Regions from separate parts of the Homo sapiens genome. Here region 2 is linked to region 1. Evidence: promoter capture Hi-C in human tissues and cell types (Jung and others, 2019). All regions are on one chromosome and are shown on one strand. Each heading gives the region's core, a stretch centred on a gene start or on the middle of the fragment in contact. The rest is flanking DNA. Distances are from core to core; before and after follow the strand shown.

Region 1 (3,036 bases), core at 200-2,699:
TCATTCGTATAGTAAATATTCCCTCATGATTTTTAAGCCGAGTGCAAGAGAAAATTTTCCACCAGTTGGTAACTTCACTAAGGTTCTGGGGACAGTGTTATCACAAGCACCTTCCTTGCAACACGTTTTGTAATTTTACTGATAAAAGTTCTGAAAATATTTCTGTATATTTTACAAGAGTCGTTCAGAAGTTTGTCTCTGACCATCTTAGCAACCTGCCTACTGGCAGAGCAATTTTAAAGCCACTTTACGAAAATGTGGCTTAAGAAATGCTCCGACAACAGTTATTAAGTGCCAATTCGGTGTAATGGAAACTCCAGGTCTTCTAATTTCCAAATACGAAACTCCACCCACTGTCCTCAAACGACAGTTCTCAATCGTAGGTGCACATCAAAATCACTTTTGGAAACTTTCAAAAAACAGCAATACTCACCCTGCACTAGGACAGGTTTTGATGTAATTGGTCGGAGGTTGGGCTCTGGTGTATTTTTAGTAAGATCTTCAAATAAGCTAACTGTGCACCCAAAGTTAAGATCACTGCCCTCAAAAATCCCCAAAAGGGTCAGTTAAACCTCTGGCTCCCGGAGCTTAGGAGGAGGAAAAGGACCTCTGTTCAAGGCTACCTTCTCTGCCCTTGCAGCCCAATCATGACCTAGAACAGAGGCCAGCAAACTTCCCTGCAAAGTGTCACACAAACGGTCTCTGTTGCGTATTTTTGTTTTCCAAAGCCTTTTAAAAATATAAAAACCATTCCTAGCCTTAGAGCTGTACAAAAGCGAAGACTCCCTGACCTAGAGCGCTGAAGCCGGAAAGCGGAGAGGGATGCGAAGACACCAGGCGGGCCCAGGCGCAGTCGCCATCCCCGGGCTGGGCCTGGCACTGCGCCACTCGGTGTCCGCGGGACCCTCAGGAACGAGAACACGGCCAAGCAAGGGACGAGCACAGCCGCTCCAGGCACCACGACAGACCCGCGGCGGCGGCCCAAGGACCACAGAGGGCAGCACGCCCGCCCCCGCCCCTCCCCGGCCCGCGGCAATCCCTCCCCGCGCTCCCGCCACGCGCAGGCCCAGCCCCGCGGCGGCCTCGGTCCCACGCCCCGCGCCCGGGCCCGCCCGGTGACTCAGCACTTGGGCACCGCACCGCTGGGGGCGAAGGCACCGACCGGGCGGCACGGGCCGGGACCGGGCGCTGGACCAGGGCGGCCCCGAGGCCTGGCGGGCGACCCGCTCCTAGCAAAGGTGCGCGGGGGGACGAGCGGGTGGGAGCGGCCTCGCAAACAAGCCTCCGTCCCAGCCCTTGCCTTCTGCTCGAAATTGATGATGCCCTGCACTGGGCCGTCGCCCTTCAGCACGCACACGGCCTTCGTCGCCATAACTCGCTAGGCCACGCCGAGGTCCTGGTTCCGAGGACTGCAACGGAAACCCCAGACGCTGCAGGAGACTACGACGCAAACCAGCACCCCGTCTCCGCGACTACTTTATAGGCCAGACCTCCGCGCCTCGCCCACTCTGGCCCCAAACCAATCGCCTCGCACGCGCTCAGCCCGCCCCCTGCGGCAGCCTCGGGTCGCGAGTGGCCGGGAATGACTGGGGGCGGGGCCAAGGGGCCGCGTGCGCCGGAGACTCCCCCCGCCCCGCAGCCGGGAAACGTCCAGAACCCCGAAATGTGGAGAAAACAACCTTCTTTTCACGGGGGCGTGGCCCGCCGGTTGCAGTACGCGAAATTGGCAAAATGATGTAAACAGGGTACGCTTTGAAAATCTGAAGTCACTTTGTCTAGAAATGTCATTAGTTATGACTGAGTTTGGCCACAGCGTCTCATTTGTTACTCAGCAATTGGGACGCCCCAAGATGGATGCTTTTGTAGTTTTCATTTTTTTGTCTTGTTTTTTAGTTTTCTGAGGGTATAGAAAGTCGCTACACCTCAATCCCGGGACTTACCTTTTCTTCCCCTGCAATTTTCTTAGTCCTTAGTATAGAGTTTCTTATTTGGTTGGCAGAATTCGGTATTCTTTTTATATTTTTCCTGTTTGGCAAGGCCACAACCCTACAGATAACCAAACGGCAACTAGTTGGCTTCTAGGCATCACCTGCGTTTTTGTCTGGCCTAAAGGCCACAACACTCAAGGAGGGTAGAATGGTGAAATAATTTATGATGCCTCCATACAACAGGAATGATAAATATGACTTACCTTTCAAGGGAAATATTTCAAAAACATATTGTGAAATGAGAAAATAGTGCAAACTACTTTTGTCCGGGGCGAGGGGGTTGTTTGTTTGATTTTTGAGACAGGGTCTCGCTCTGTCACCCAGGCTGGAGTGCAGTGGCGCCATCATAGCTCACTGCAGCCTCCACCTCCTGGGTTCAAGCCATCCTCCTGCCTCAGCCTCCCAAGTACCTGGGACCACAGGCATGTGCCACCACACCTGGCTGATTTTTGTATTTTGGGTACAGATGGGGTTTTACCATGTTGCCCAGGCTGGTTTCAAACTCCTGAGCTCAAGCCAGCCATCTACCCACCTCGGCCTCCCAAAGTGCTGGGATTACAGACATGAGCCACCACGTCCAGCCTAGTACTTAATATTGAGTATGGCAAAATACTGAGACTTAATTGAAGTCCAGTGTGAAACAACAATAGAAGCTATTCCAGCCTCGTTTGGAGTACACTACTATCGATTTATTTACTTATTTATTATTTACGCTATTTAGACCCTCAGACTCTAATGCATCCTCTATCAGAGAAATACAATTCACATTTTTTTATCATCCTCTAGGAAGTATACATATTTGCAGTTTTGCCTGTTGTATTTGGTAGTAGTCTCCAGATAATTCGTATATTCTAAACGGTTGCATAAACAGTGCAAATGCTGGCCAAAGGGCCTTTGCCCAAGGCTAAAGTTTCTTTGGGTTCCAGGAAGTTCGGCAGATTTCAGTTCATTGTAAACTTGCCAAGGGATCCGCCCACAGACACGAGAGAGCTGCTTTGGGACAGTGAATTACTCTTCTTTTGAGACGGTCTAATGATGCCTGGGTGGT
Region 2 (2,979 bases), core at 389-2,888, 440 kb before region 1:
TGAACCATCCTGTTGGAATAACAGATGGAAGAACTGGATATATTTAGCCTAGGGAATTAGAGACTGAAGAAAAAGAACAGCTGCTTTTAAATATTAAAGGGCTGTCATGTAGAGGAGAAAGCAGTCTTGATCTTGTTACTCCAGAACATGCACGAAGAGAATGGGAGAAAATTTTAATACAGTAGATTTGACTCAGGATGTGAGAACGCTTCCTAATAAGTCAATTTGTTAAAAGATGGAGTAAGCCCCCATTCCTCTTTGCTAGCCTGCTTTAGCAGATGCTAGGGAAATTTCTTCAGGCAGAGATGGTGTTTTTAGGAGTCCCCAGATATCCGTGTGGGCTGGGGAGATGGAACCAGTTGATTAAAATCTTTTGCTAGTCTAAGTCAGTCCAGGGTGCAGACTCTGAATGGTATGAGCCAGGGTGCAGAAGTGGGGCTGTTGGCTGGCCATGGAAGAGGACCCCTCCACAAATGCTCATGAGCACTGGTGAAGGATAGAGCATCCACTGGGGAAGGCAGCGGGCAGTCTCTTACAGCAATTACCACATTATTTTGCCAAGGGACACACTGAATGCATCTACTGGAATACAGGCCAATAGGAGTTGGATTTTACTGTGTTGGGCAAGCAGGCCCTCCTTGGAAAAATGGTTTGGTTGTGTGGCTTTTGTTTTGCATGCTCTCAGGTGATGCCCTAGGGAGACCTCCCAGGAGGAGGTGCAGCAGGCCTCCCTGCGGTGGGTTTGGCACGGGGGCAGGTCTGGCTCTGGTCCAGTAGCTGGCACTGACCCTCACCACCAGCAGCCTAAACAATGCCTGGCCTCCTCTGACTAGCAATTTGCAGAACAAACCCACTGGCTTCTGAGGAGGAAGCAGAAGAGGCCACGGTCATGGAGGATGAATGCAGAACAGCGGCTCCCCTTTTAAGAGGCTCGAAGGGGACCAGGGAAGGGGGTCTATGTCTGTGCCAGGAAGGCAGGCTTATGTACCCACTGAAAAAGCGGGACCCCTGTGAGAGACAGTGACGTGTATGGGAAAGAACAGCCTTGAGGGGCAGCTGGGGCCAGGCTGCCGAAGTGAATTTGTCACTGCCATGCAAACCTGTGTGACTTTGGGCAAGTGGCTTAACCTCTTTGTGCCTTAGTTTCCTCATCTACACAAGGGGGCAGTCACGGCACCTACCTCATAGGGTTGTTAAGAGGATGACATCAATTAATTCTTATTTAAAAAGTACTTGAAACAGTGCTAGGAGCATAGAAAGTGCTAGAAAAGTGTTTGCAAAATGAATCAGACACAGGTTCCTACTCCAATCCTGCTCCTTTCTGGATGTGTGAATTTGAGCAAGTGTTTCAACCTCCCTGGGCCTCTTCTTCATTCATGAAATGGAAATAATAATGCTGACCTTGCAGGGCCACTGTGAGGATCACACAAGCTCAGCAGGATGGACAGACCCTCCGTAAACAACCCTTGTTAATAGCCACATGCCCCGAGGACAAACAAGATTAAATCCTGGACCTCACAAATGCTTTTTTCCCCTAAGATTCCAAATAAAAACAGGCTCAGAGTGTCAGAGATCATTTTATAAGAGTTACAAAGAGGCCCTGGAGGGCCAGGTGACCTGAAACAATAATAATAGTAACAATAACAACAGCAGAAGCAGGAAAAACAGGTCCCAGGCCCTGGGCCGAACATTTTACATAGCTTATCCTGTTGAACCCTAGTAAGACTGTGAGGCAGGGGGCAGGGCAATTGATGATTATGATGGTGACGGTGATAATAATAATGATCATTTTATAGATGAAAAAATTGAGCCTCAGAATAACTCGTTCCACCTCACACTGCTTTTTAGGGTGAAACCTGGAGTGGAATGGACATCTCTCAACTCCACACCCATGCTCTGAACCACACGGCCTCCTAAGACACTAAAGGCAATTTCATCAGAATGCAGGGGACTCATGAGGAAGACCTCAGGGTGTTCATTGAACACCAAGATTAAAATGAGCCGAAATTCTGACACAGCTAGTAAAGAATTAACTGTGATGATTTCACTCAGTGCTAGGTTCCCCCAAATGACATGCTCCTTGTCACCTGCCCTGCCCAAGGCCTGGCTCTGAATATGTGGATACAGCCACATTTGCTTGGTCTCAGTTGGCTGGAATTTTTCATTGGCCTGGAAGGCCTTGAACCAGAGTTTCATTCGAGTAGAACTAAGCCTTCAAATGCAAACACTCCAGGTCTGGATTGTGCCCGCACTTAAGCCCACTGATGCTGAGGAGCAAAGGGCCAACATCTTTCCCTCTGCTCAGCCTCTGAGCCACACTTGGCTGCTTGCCAGGACAGAAGAGGTGAGAAGGTCCCAGCATGGGAGACTGGGGGCTGTGGGATATAAGTTCTCAAGATGACCTCTTTCTCCCTGGGAGGGAACTTCACAGCATTGCAGGCTATTCTCTGCAAGTAATGTCTCCAAGGTAGGATGGTTGAGAGCTAGAGATATGTGGGCTTGTGGTTGGGGTGGTGGAGGGGGAGTGTAGGAGGGAAGAGAGAGAGGAGGGCATGAACGCCAGATCCCAGATACACAAGGGACTCAATTGTGGTGGGGAAGCTTCAGTTCAGAAGGGGAGGGACAGGAGACCATGAGGCTGGACACGACACAGGAGAAGATCAAATGAAAGGCAAGGCACAGGCCGGGTACAGTGGCTCACACCTGTAATCCCAGCACTTTGGGAGGCCGACCAAAACCTCATGGTCAGGAGTTCGAGACCAGCCTGGCCAATATGGTGAAACCCCATCTCTACTAACAATAGAAAAATTAGCCTGGAGTGGTGGCGTGTGCTTGTAGTCCCAGCTACTTGGGAGGCTGAGGCAGGAGAATTGCTTGAACCCTGGAGGCAGAGGTTGCAGTCAGCCGAGATCACACCGCTGCACTCCAGCCTGGGTGACACAGTGAGACTCTGTCTCAAAAAAAAAAAAAAAAGAAAAG

Evidence for each region. The method cuts DNA at HindIII sites, captures the fragments that hold promoters and counts their contacts. A contact is called where the count stands out against the background at its distance.
Region 2: a contact is called between a fragment that was not itself captured here and the fragment with the promoter of SOD1 in region 1, in 1 of the 25 tissues and cell types used here (lymphoblastoid cells).

The regions. Positions count from the first base shown.
Region 1 is chr21:31,658,106-31,661,141 of GRCh38, reverse strand. It overlaps SOD1 (superoxide dismutase 1), which reads right to left and starts at 1,449. Exons shown (of 5, transcript NM_000454.5): 1 at 1,301-1,449. The coding sequence starts at 1,372. SOD1-DT (SOD1 divergent transcript) reads left to right here and starts at 1,118. Exons shown (of 3, transcript NR_187558.1): 1 at 1,118-1,745. RefSeq lists enhancers at 1-107, 607-806 and silencers at 967-1,246, 1,517-1,836. The HindIII fragment of the contact is 13,368 bases long and covers 1-3,036 here.
Region 2 is chr21:32,098,441-32,101,419 of GRCh38, reverse strand. No RefSeq gene overlaps it. Among named protein-coding and RNA genes, the nearest start is that of LINC00159, 14 kb to the right of the region's middle. The HindIII fragment of the contact is 3,760 bases long and covers 1-2,979 here.